2 separate regions of the Homo sapiens genome follow, and region 1 is linked to region 2. The links are contacts of gene promoters, found by promoter capture Hi-C in human tissues and cell types (Jung and others, 2019). All regions are on one chromosome and are shown on one strand. The core of a region is centred on a gene start or on the middle of the fragment in contact, and the rest is flanking DNA. Distances in the headings are between cores, read along the strand shown.

The links. The method cuts DNA at HindIII sites, captures the fragments that hold promoters and counts their contacts. A contact is called where the count stands out against the background at its distance.
Region 1: a fragment that was not itself captured here is called in contact with the fragment with the promoter of CSRNP3 in region 2 in 2 of the 25 tissues and cell types used here (hippocampus and mesenchymal stem cells).

The regions. Positions count from the first base shown.
Region 1 is chr2:165,664,488-165,671,024 of GRCh38, reverse strand. All of the region lies in intron 5 of CSRNP3 (cysteine and serine rich nuclear protein 3), which reads right to left. Among named protein-coding and RNA genes, the nearest start is that of GALNT3, 130 kb to the left of the region's middle. The HindIII fragment of the contact is 3,212 bases long and covers 3,009-6,220 here.
Region 2 is chr2:165,467,247-165,473,526 of GRCh38, reverse strand. It overlaps CSRNP3 (cysteine and serine rich nuclear protein 3), which reads right to left and starts at 3,829. Exons shown (of 7, transcript NM_001172173.2): 1 at 3,787-3,829. The HindIII fragment of the contact is 6,911 bases long and covers 2,262-6,280 here.

The DNA of each region.
Region 1 (6,537 bases), core at 3,365-5,864, 200 kb before region 2:
GTCTAAAAGCTAGTCTGTTGATAGGATAACCAGCACTTTCAAATGAATGCTCTCTTCTCAAGTAGATACTGCCAATCTGGGACTTGAATCATTTCTCCTGTAGTGTTTTCTTTTTCTTTTTTTTTCAAAAAAATAATGTTGCCTCCCCAAGAGCTCAAAGCAAGTCTGCAAAAAATGTGATTTAAAGAGATTACCAAATAGCCTTGACTCTTAAATCTGTTTTTATTTCTGTGTTTTCTTGAGTGTGAAAGAAAGAGAAATTGCAGGTGGGGGTTAAAGAAGTGGTAGAAGCAGATATGACATAATATTAATAACAGCTTTCGCATCTGTGTGCCAGGCACTGTTCTAAACACTTTACCTGCATTAGTTCATTTAGGATCATATACATCTCATGAGGCAAATACTATCATTGTATTCATTTAACTGATGAGGAAAATGAGGCACAGGAATGTTAAATAATTTGCCCAAGATTGCAAGTAATGAGGATGTGCATCAAGTTACGACCCTACTATGTGACTCTACAGCTTGTGCTCTTAAAAGTAGTAATAATTACATATATCTATTCTTTTAATACACTTAACAGGTACTGAACAATCTTTTATGATTATTTGGAATCAGGCATTAGGTGTACTGGTGCACAACATACAGCCCTTGATCCCAATGAACTGGAGTAAAGAGACAAGGAGTCTAGTAATTTTAACCTAGTTCATAAGGATTTCCTAGCTTAGGGTGAACATGGGGCATTTGAGGGTTATGTAGGAGGGTGGCAGTGGGGCTGGCAGTGGGGTGAAGTGGGAAGACTTCAATATTCAAATCTGAAAATAGAGTAGCAGTTAAATGAACAGTGGTGACAGAAGGCATTCCATGCTGAGCAACAATAGTTTCAAAGGCCTGAGATAGGACAGAGCATGATACAGTCATTGACCTATAAATTATCCAGATGATTGAACTTGCATGGGATCACTCCCTGTCTTGGTCCATAATTGAAGAGCTAAAAGTAGATAAATAGCAGTTATCCAGAGAGAAATTCTTCTTTGCCATTTGGCTTAGCTAGTTTACAGGTGATGAATACTGACTTAATTTATGATTTGACTTAATCATCTTTATTTTATGTTTATCCTATCTCTGTATGCATGTATCTATGTTGTACTGTTAGGATCTCCAGGTCAAGGCCCCTGTGTGTATGTATGTGTGGGGTGGGCATGTGTGAGTGGGCACGCATGCACATGTGTGTATGCTTGGTTTCAATGATGACACTTAAGATGGACTTAGTTCTTAAGCCACTGTGTAAACTTGTTCAGACTCTCTACAAATAAAACCACTATAACTTTTTTTTGACAGATGGAAACCAAACATCTTAATTTTGCAGATTCGTATGCACTGATAACTGTGAGAAAACCATTCCCAAAGCCCTATAGAAATAAATCATTTTGCCCATCTAAACATACCTGAGGGATGGGACACATTACTGTCAGAATCAGTGGAATGATACCCAGACAGCTTTGAGCCAAATATAGGGATCCCAAATAAAAATCAAGGCTCAACTTTTTGTTTGTTTTTACCATATCATGTTGTGAATGAGTTCTTCCATAAATTTTAATGAGATGAAATTTTTGGTGCCATCAAGGGCCCCCAAACACCTAATTCAATTCAACTAATAAAATGATTAGAAGAGAGAAACAATACTAAAAGTATAGATTGACTAAAATGCCAGGGCAAAACAAAATAAAACAAAAAACAAAAATAAAAACACTTCTTTTTAGCACTTAAAAGCTATGTTTACTAACAAAATTTTCTGGTCATTACTGAATTATTCACACGTGTGAAAAAGAGAGTGATTTCCAGAAACAAGAATGTGAAAAACTAATTCAACTTCACAGACACTGATTACTGCATATTATAATAAGGATGATGATGTTGAGAATGACCTAAGCTGCCATATAGTAAATACTAGCCATTAAGTTCCATACTGTATATAAATTATCTCACCTAATTTGCATGACAATCTTATAAAGTAAAATTTTTTTGTAGTTGAGAAAATTGAAGTTCGGAGAATATAATTTGCCAAAGTCTAGCTAAATAGCCAATTAATGATGATGTTGAAGATCAAACTTAGGTTTATTTGACTCCAAAGCTTGAGCCATGCTTTCAAGACCAGTTGGAGTAAAAATTCTTAAGAGCAATGGTAGAAAAACTGAACAAAAGGAAACAAAAAAAGACAACGTGGCAGTACACTCTAAGAGCTGATCTCAGTGCTGTGGGGCAAGAGATAAAAGAGCAGAATAAGCTTCCCTAGAAATAGCTCACTCAGAAATAAAGGATATGGGCTGGGCGTGGTGGCTGACACCTGTAACCCCAGCACTTTGGGAGGCTGAAGCAGGCAGATAACGAGCTCAGGGGTTCAAGACCAGACTGGCCAACATGGTGAAACCCTGTCTCTACTAAAAATACAAAAACTAGCCAGGATTGATGGCAGGCACCTGCAGTCCCAGGTATTTGGGAAGCTGAGGCAAGGGAATTGCTTGAATCCAGGAGGTGGAGGTTGCAGTGAGCTGAGATCACACCACTGCACTCCAGCCTGGGTGACAGCGAGACTCTGTCTCAAAAAAAAAAAAAAAAAAAAGAAAGAAAGAAAGAAAGGATATGATTCAGACACAGAAAGCAAGAGCTCAGGAAAGAAGAAAACAGAGAGCAAACCAAAGATACAACATCTCACCAGTTAGTATTTCCTTTGGGTCCTACTTTTTGGGCATGTGGAGGTGGCCTTTCTAATGGAGAGGACATCAGATAAAGCTGGTTGAGCTAACGTATTACTCTTTTGATTTTCTCAGCTGACTTTTAACTTATTTATCCTGGCCTGAGAAATCTGTATAGCCTGTGGTCTAGTGTTGTAAGACTATATTAGCTTTGGTGATTGATTTAATGTTTATCTCCCCTATCATACTGTGAGCATGTTGAGAGCAGAGATGGCATCTGTCTTGTTTACCAGTGTATCCTTTGCACCTTGATAATTACCAGTCCCATAGTAATTGATTAATACATTTTTAAAATGAATAAGTGAATATTCTTAATCACTATGGCATATTGCCAAGCACTGTACTAGGTATGGAGTTTTATAGATGTACAACAGTTCTGCCATATAAGGAGGTTCCAGTCTGCTGGGGGAGATGACCGTGTAATAAATATGATATAATGTTGTAAGAGCACAAAATATATGTGCAAGTTATTGAAGTGGTGGGGTGGAAGAGAGAATAGACATGAAAAGGAAGGCTAGGTACAAAGTCACAAAGCAGAATTATTTACTTCCTATTCAGATTCCATAGTCTTTTTCAAAAAGAAAAACCTTCAAACCAAAAATGTGAGAACAGGCATGTCAGGAAGGATTTAAAGCAAAAGGGAGGTGAGGAGACAGCGAAAGAGGACTCCGCTGTTTTATGGAAGAATCTCCAGGCCCAGACAATTTATGTTTTGAGGCAATGAAACAGCTTGAAGTTATGGTTGTGCAGTGTAACAGTTTTGAAGAGTCATGGAGTAAAGAATTACAAGATAATCAAAGTGAGAACAATTTTTTTTAAAAAAAAGCTAGTTCTGAATAACAATATTCTAGAAAAAAATACTTAAAAAGATGGTCTCTGTACATGTGACAAAAAAGAGCAGTAATTATTAGACTATTGCCTAAGTTTACTACAGGGAATGTGTCCATTTTTCAATTAAAATTCCACGCAGAAGCTTAACATATGGAAGATAAAAGTGAGAATGAGATCTGCATCTTGGGCTTTCTGCCCTGGTCCCTAATCTCAGACCCCATGGATTACAGTTGGAAAACCAGTGCTCTAGTCCTGAAAATTTCTTTCTCCTTCCTTCCTTCCTTCCTTCCTTTTCTCTCTCTCTTTCTTTCTTTCTCTCTTTCCTTCCTTCCTTCCTTTTCTCTCTCTCTCTTTCTTTCTCTCTCTCTTTCCTTCCTTCCTTCCTTTCTCTCTCTCTTTCTTTCTTCCTCTCTCTCTTTCCTTCCTTCCTTCCTCTCTCTCTCTTTCTTTCTTCCTCTCTCTCTTTCCTTCCTTCCTTCCTTCCTCTCTCTCTTTCTTTCTTCTTCTCTCTTTCCTCCCTTCCTTCCGCCCTTCCTTTTTCTCTCTCTTTCCTTCTTCCTCTCTCTCTTTCTTACTCTCTCTCTTTCCTCCCTTCCTTCCTTCCGTCCTTCCTTTCTCTCTCTTTCTTTCTTCCTCTCTCTCTTTCCTTCCTGCCTTCCTTTCTCTTTCTTTCTTCCTCTCTCTCCTTCCTTCCTCTCTCTTTCTGTTTTCCTCTCTCTTTCCTTCCTTCCTTTCTCTCTCTCTTAACACCACTCTCTCTTTCCTTCCTTCCTCTCTCTTTTCTTCCTCTCTGTCTTTCCTCCCTTACTTCCTTCCTTTCTCTCTTTCTTCATCTCTCTCTATCCTCCCTTCCTTCCTTCCTCTCTCTCTCTTTCTTCCTCTCTCTTTCCTTCCTTCCTTCCTTCCTCTCTCTGTCTTTCTTTCTTCCTCTCTCTCTTTCCTCCCTTCCTTCCTCTCTGTCTTTCTTTCTTCCTCTCTCTCTTTCCTCCCTTCCTTCCTCTCTGTCTTTCTTTCTTCCTCTCTCTCTTTCCTCCCTTCCTTCCTTTCTCTCTCTCTCTTTCTTCCTCTCTCTTTCCTTCCTTCCTTCCTTTCTCTCTCTCTTTCTTTCTTCCTCTCTCCCTTTCCTTCCTTCCTCTCTCTTTCTTCCTCTCTCCCTTTCCTTCCTTCCTCTCTCTGTCTTTCTTTCTTCCTCTCTCTCTTTCCTCCCTTCCTTCCTCTCTGTCTTTCTTTCTTCCTCTCTCTCTTTCCTCCCTTCCTTCCTTCCTTTCTCTCTCTCTCTTTCTTCCTCTCTCTTTCCTTCCTTCCTTCCTTCCTTTCTCTCTCTCTTTCTTTCTTCCTCTCTCTCCTTCCTTCCTTTCTCTCTCTCTCTTTCTTTCTTCCTCTCTCTTTCCTTCCTTCCTCCCTTCCTCTCTCTCTCTTTCTTTCTTCCTCTCTATCCTTCCTTCCTTTCTCTCTTTCTTTCTTCCCCTCTCTCTTTCCTTCCGTCCTTCCTTCCTTCCTCTCTCTTTCTTTCTTCCTCTCTCTCTTTGCTTCCTTCCCTCCCTCCTTCCTTCCTCTCTCTCTTTCTTTCTCTCTCTCTTTCCTTCCTTCCTTCCTTGCTTCCTTTCTTCCTTCCTTCCTTTCTCTTTCTCTCTTTCTCTCTCTCTCTCTCTCTCTCTCTCTTTCTTTCTTTTCCCAGAATCTCACTCTGTCGCCTGGGACCCAGGCTACAGTACAATGGCACAATCATAGCTCACTGCAACCTTGAACTCCAGGGCCCAAGTGATGCACTCATCACAACCTTCCAAGTAGCTGGGACTACAGGCACATGCAACTGCCCAGCTAAATTTTAAATTATTTTGTAGAGAAGGGGTCTCACTATGTTGCCCAGGCTGGTCTTTAACTCCCGGCCTCCAGCAATTCTCCAGCCTCTGCCTCCCAAAGTGCTGGGATTACAGGTGCGAGCCACCCTGCCCGGCCAGAGAATTTCTTATTTTGTCTCTAAGACAAGAATATAGTTCTGAGAATTTCCCATTCTTTCACTCTGACAGAATTTCTTATGCTCTTCATGTGGAAAATGGAATGTAATCTGATTAATAAGAATATGGTTGGATATATGACTTTTAGTTAGCTGAGCAGTAAAAATGCCTCTAATACCAGTGATGCTCAGCCTCTTTTGTACCAACAAGGAGGCCAGGAATGAAGGATAACGGCATCTATACATCCTATCAGTAGCAGTGGCGCACCCTGGCAATGTTTCTCCCTGGGGGTCATGGTGGGGTGCTTCTCCTTTTACTCTTGAGGATAGCTACCTTGAGAGGATATCCTAAACTTGGCCCTGTTTTGTTAAATGCAATTTTAAGTCCATAACCTGGATGAAGACCTAAAAGGCAAGCTTATCACATCTACAGATGACAAGACCAAGTTTATTGAAATTAAATGTAACAAAACTTTATTGATCACTCTCTACAGGCCATGTCTAGCACTAAAGAGGGCTTTTGCCATGGAGATGTTACAAAATTTTGGTTTATATCATAATGCAGAGTTGGCTTAAAAGATCTGAGTTTTGTTTGCTTGTTTTTTGTTTAGTTTAGCTTATTTATTGTTTGTTTGTTTTTTGCTTACCACCAGCTTACTAAGAACAAAAAAAAATTGATCACAGTCCAAAAGCCACTATATCCTTAGTGTATTCCATGGAAAGAACATCCCGAACTTGGGAGAAGATAACGTAACATATTCCTGGAGCACCATGTCCAGGTCAAGTACCATATTATAAAGGAGACATAAATAGCCCTGTATCCAGAGGAAGGAAACCAGGGCAACAAAGAGCCTAAAAGCCATGCCCCAGGAGGATCAGTGGAAAGAACCAAGGATGTTTAATCCTGCAGAACAGAAACATATAGAGCCCATAAGCTTTCTTCAAATATTTGCATGTCCATCACCATTGCTTTCAAACAGCCAGAATTCGGAA
Region 2 (6,280 bases), core at 2,580-5,079:
TACTATAGTACAAATGTTAATGTAATTTTTTCATTTGACTGGATTAGTTTATGTATACAGCACAATTTGAATATTATTAAATCTGACCCAAGCTTTCTTACTCTCATGTTATTTCCATTTCTTGTAAATGCCACCCCTCCATTTCCAGCAATAAGAGGTTATTTGCCAAACTAGCATATTTCCATTACAGATGTAAAGTTGTCTACTTATATTATAGGGGAAGTAATTAAGTATTTTGTTTTCTTTAGTATATTTTGTGAGACTTTAAGAGGCCATGAAAACCCACCCACAATTCTGGCAAGCTACGTTTAGCAAAGAAAGAAGCATGAAGCAGTAAGTAGAAATGACTAACAAACTGTATTTTTAAATTATCTGTAGTTGAGAGTAAGCCTACGAAATGCATTCTCTTCAGGATCTTGACAAGCATTGATAATTTTGGTTGTGCCTTAAATAGGGGTTGTCTACACAGGTCACATAATCCATTTACTAGTCTATCTGATTTGTTGTTAGCTTGCTTTTTAATGTCATCAGTGTTTATGCTGAAAGTGCTGTCACTGAAGTGCTTTGCTCGTGTTAATTGATAAAAACAAAATACTTCCCACCATCTTAGCTTTTTTTGAAAATAACGTACTGACATGCCAAATTAATTTAACTTTAAATAATATGTTGGCTACATATTAAATATTTTAACACGTAGTTTAAGCATGTGGTGCTTTATTTGCTACATTGCTAACATTGAATCTAATAGACTAAGGTTAATATTATGAAAATAAAGTATGATATGTCACAAATATTTAAATGAGTTGTAAAGAGAAAATAAGAGTTAGGAATCTCATCTGAATTATAACAAAAATAATAGGAAAGCTGTTAACAGCTTTATGATGATTTTTCCTCTTAACAAATAGCTGAGAGATTTGAAAAAAATGGTGTATGGGATGACAGTGCTGCCTTTGAAGCATGTAATTTTATAATAAAAATGTTTTAAATTAAGGAATTGCCTAGGGTAGAATATGATGATAATTGTGATTTTTTTTTGTATAGAGAAAAGCTACATAAAAGTAATGTTTATTTTCAAAGAAAGCAAAAATGTTTCAAATAAAGCAAAAAGGATATATGTGCATTTACAGTGATTTATATTAAATTTTAAATTAATTACCTTAACATTAACACAAATAGCTTTTAGGTTGTTGGAATGTGTAATTTTTTATACATATTAAATAGATTACAAAGGTAAGGAAATAATTGCATTAATGAAACATGGTTTGGACGTTAAGTTTAAAAAATTCTTATTCTAATGTCAAAATGTGTATTGAATGCTCCTCACTATCCATAGCCTGGACATATACCAAGCTTCTCTCTTTATGATTAAAGTGATTGATACATTAAAAAATACTTCTTAATTTATTGTATTATTCATTATATTGCAAACCACTGCAAACATAAAGAGAAAAAGGAAAGAGTGTTGTGAAAAGGGGACAAAGCTGTATATAGTGAGCTCCATTAAAAACCTACATTTAAATCTTAAAAATGTTTGTACCAAAGGAAAAAAAAATGGTGATGCCTTCCCATTTCTCACTGAAAGCCTTACATGGTTTTCATTTGCCTTGTTTCATCCTTCACTTGGACAGTAACCTCTTAACTGTTTTCTTTCATGCTTTTTTTTTCTCTCTTGTCTCCACTCCAGCACACATTCTCTCTCTCTCTCTATCTCTTCCTGTGGACTCTGCAGTAAAAGCTACCCCAGTTGTCTCATTTTTATAAGACTTGCAGACGTCTGCCAGTGGCTGATAGGAAATGCTGATTGAGAAAGGGTTTATCTACTTTTCATCCAAAATATGTGAACCATTAAGGAAATTATAAAAAGCAGCAACAATATACTCTGGTTTTATTCAGTCCTCTCCCTTAGTGATTATTAAAAGGGTGATATTTTTAGCCAAAGAAAGCAAAATGCATCTGCAGCAGCTGGTTTCCAAGGAAACAGAATAATTTAAAACCATGTGGAACTCTGCTCTCTAATTTTCATCAATTCCCCTTCATTCCTGGAGGTAGCTTTACTCAGAATTTATAATTTCTAAAAAATATAGCTGCATTGATTTATTTCCTCTAATACATTTTAGGAGATGAATATCTGGTCTTATATATCACCTTGAATTTCAATCTTGGGGTGAGGGGTGGATTAATTTCAACCATTGTTTTGCTTAAAAAAACAAAATCGGAAAGATCCATCAATAATTAGAAACATGCCAAAATTTCAGTATTATGTAATAATTTTTGAAATCCAGAAACAGTTCAAAATCAACCATACCAGAATATTTACTTGGTTCATTATGACACTTAACCATATAAACATGTTATTAACTATATTTAGTACTTTTAGGAAATTTAAGGTAATTCTCAATTCATTTAGATAATCCATACTAATATTCAGCAATTTTCTCACTCATTTTAATTTTCCAAGAACTATTATATTTGTGTCTGTTTATTCAAAGACAAAATCTCTCAAACAAAAAAAGTACAATAAATAAAAAAATTTGAAAAACAATAAACAAAAAGAAAAACAATAGCAAAAAATATTTAGAAATTATATAGTCATTCCTATTAGTTTTGATTCATTCAAAAAGGTATTAAAATATGTAGGAACAAATTATTTACCTCATTGAAAGACTTTTATTTTATTATTATAATCAACAGGTATTAATCGATGGCCAGTGTACTGAAGTCAGTCATAATTCTTGAAAGTTCAATTTTAATGAGGTTCTACCACCGTTAAATGACCTGTATTTATGAATTAAAGTAAAGAATTAAGTGACTGGGAGTTCAGTTTTTTTGTATGTTTTTACTGCAAGTGTGTTATTTATTCTACATACTTAGAACTTGTCCCTTTTTTCCCTAAGGCAATATAAAGGACCATATTAGGAGATACAAGCACCTAGTAAAGTTGCTAAAAAAAAATTGCCTAGAGATATTATCAACAATATAAATGCTCTGATGGAATTCTTATCTAGATGTGTTTGACTGATAAATTAAACTACCCATGAAACATGACTGTTAAGATGCTATTTTTTACAGCAATGTTTAATCTTTCAAAATTAGGTTTCTGTGCTTTAAAATAAAAATGGCTCCATGTAAGTTAACAAGTAGAGACAAACCATTGTTTAATTATCACATAAGCTTAAAGTTTGCTGAATAAAATAATGCAAATATTGAACAACATGAGATTTATCAAGAGGAGTAAGTTAAATAACAGGGCTTAAATGCACACAAATCATTCATTCTAAATTAATGCTAAAAGAGTCTACAACCTGCAAAAATAGTTTTCCTAAGCCTTTTACTGTATTGTCAATATTAAAAGCCATCACATGAAATTTTATATTGTATATTCACAGAAGGCTCCATTTTCTCAGGACCTGTGGAATTTACCGAGGTTTTCTCATCCTTCCTGCGATTCCTAGTAACAAGCTTGAATTAAACATTTTTGAAGAGACACATGATGATTCATTTTATCTATTAATTTTGCTTCAGTGACACTTGCATAGAAAGTTATTTAGGATAAGACATGCCTCTGGTGATTGTTTTGTTTTGTTTTTAATCAGCTAAGGATTTTGCAGAGAGAAAGAACAGCAAGCTCATTGCAAAGCTTCCTCAAGTAATAAAAGGGACACACTTTCAGAAAATGTCCTCAGAATAATTTTCCTACTATAAAATTGTTTCCGTAAAAATTAAGAAGCATTCTCTTTTAAAGAAAAAAAGAATTCTCTTTTCTTTTTTTTTATTTTTCGCTCTTACCTGTAAATATGGTTTCTGTACTTCGGCTCCGTCAGAACACACTGAAGAGAGTACACTCCTCCCTCGTCTATCCATCAGGCGGCAGCCAACCAATAACAAAAGCCAGATCCTGGCATTCTCTAGCTCATGCTCCCTGCTTTGCTTCCATTTCTTGTTCCCTCCCACCTCCACTCTTTTAGAGGACGAATCCCTGCAGCTGGGAGAGAGGAAGCGAGTGGAGAAAAGAAATATGGAGAGAAAAGCAGAGATGCAAGATATTTCAAAAAATAGCTCCCAACTATGGAAAATGTCTGCAGATGACCTCAGCTGAAGTAAAAAGTCTTGCTTTGGATTTAGAAAAATAAAGTTAATCAATGCCTCACCTACCTGAAATCAAAGCAAAATGCTCATAGTAAAACCTAGGTAAATTGCCTGTTTTTTAGTTCCCACTGATTTTTCTCAGTGAAAAAAGTGTACCTCCTCATTATACATTTTGATATGCAGACAGAGGAGGGAGACTGAACATCAAGATGACATTTTGCATATTCAGTTTGCAAAGAGATAGAATTAAAATGAATCAACACCCTTTATACTTATGTTTTATATTATTTGCACTACAACCTCTGTTTGACAATGTTTTCATTCAAACGCAGTTTCGAGGCCTAATCAGTATGAAAAATATTTCATTCTGAGCATTAGAATATTCAAATATTTCACAGTTATGTGGTTTGCATTACTTCAGATTCCTTAAATGCCATCAATTTGTGAATAATGGAACTTATTAAAGATTAAAAAGAGATCAGTCACTTGGTTGCCATGCCTCAAAGTGACCAGCTGAACTCCAATTTTATTCTAATAAACTTAAACAAAAATCATTTCACTTCTGAACCTAGAGGCATAACATGCATTAAAGGACAGTTAAAGAAAACACCAAATTAGGATTTTTTAAGGCAATAAAGCAAATTCATCCAGTTTCAAACAGTTTAATTTTTAAAATACTGTAATACAAACCAGGGATCTTTATGATAAAAATTCTCTCAATTGAGCTTCCTCTAGTGGAGGTGGTCTGAAAAATTTCCTTAGAAAGACATATACAGTAGATATCACCACTATAGAGGTATGTACTGGCTACTTGAGGTATTTATAAGCCTTGCTCTTCAATTTCTTAAATCAGTAATGTGTCCTCATGGGAATAAGGCCAAAGGGAGTAAAATTAGAGGGAAGGGCAAGCAAGCATTCTTTAAGAGTTACTGGCATGGTGGCAAATCATTAGTCCAGGAATATCTGTACAGGAAGGGCTTGGGGTGTCAATATTGTTAGGAAAGGAATGGCTGGTGACTTAAACTGATACTAACTTTAGATAGGAGTGCACTGATTTTGCTTAGTTTGCACTGTTATTTAGAGTAGCTTTGGGAGGCTCTGCTAAAGATTATGGGGAAGACTAAACTATCGCTTATTCCCACCGCCAAGTCCTCTGTTGTGAAAAATGCTTTCAAAGCCTTTGTGGTCCTATTGCTAGGAATAACTGGAGGAATCCCTAGGACAGACAGCATTTTTAGAAATAGTTGTTCGGGGCCATCTTCATCAGAACCACTAGGGGAAGATTCATTAAAAATGCAGGTTCATGGGCCTCCTCCAGATTTAATGAATAAGCATTTGAGGAGTTTCTGACTCAGCATTTTTAGCAAGCTCTCCCAGGTGATTTATATGTCAAGTGTGATTGTAGACAGAGACTTGTAGGCAAGTATTTGCAGGGCACAAATTCTAACCAGATTTCTTCTGTTTAGATGATGATGCCATTGTCTCAGAAAAAAAAAAAAAAGAGAGATTTAGAGATTTGGGAACAAAATAACAAAATTAATTTGAACGTTTTGAACTTTTTGGATATCCAGATTAAAATATTAAATAGTCAGTTAAACTCATAAATAAGGCTGGGATGTAGGTTCAATTTGGAACCCCCAGCATCTAGGGTTCGGTTAAAGTAATGAAAATAAATGAGCACCCTAAGGGTTTAATATAAAAATTTTATAAAGAACTCATAAAACTTAACAGTGGAAAAACAAACCCAATACAAAATGGACAAAAGGCCCAAATAGACATTTCTCCAAAGAAGACATAAAAATGGACAACAGGTTTATGAAAATATGCTCAGCATCACCAATCCTCAGGGCAATGTAAATCAAAATTACTAAGAAATACCACCTCATATTTATTAGGACGGCTGTTATCAAAATGTCTGCAGATAAATGTTGGAGAGAGTGTAGAGAAAAGAGTACTCTTGTACACTGTTGGTGGGAATGTCAACTGCTACAGCATTATGAAAAACAGTATGGATGATTGTAAAAAAATTAAAAATAGAACTACCATATGATCTAGCAATCTCTCTTCTGGGCATATACTCAGAAGTGGAATCACAACTTTGTAAAGATATCTGTATTACCATGTTCATTGCAGCATTATTCACAATAGCCAACATATGGAAACAACTTAAGCATTCATTGATGGACAAGGGGAT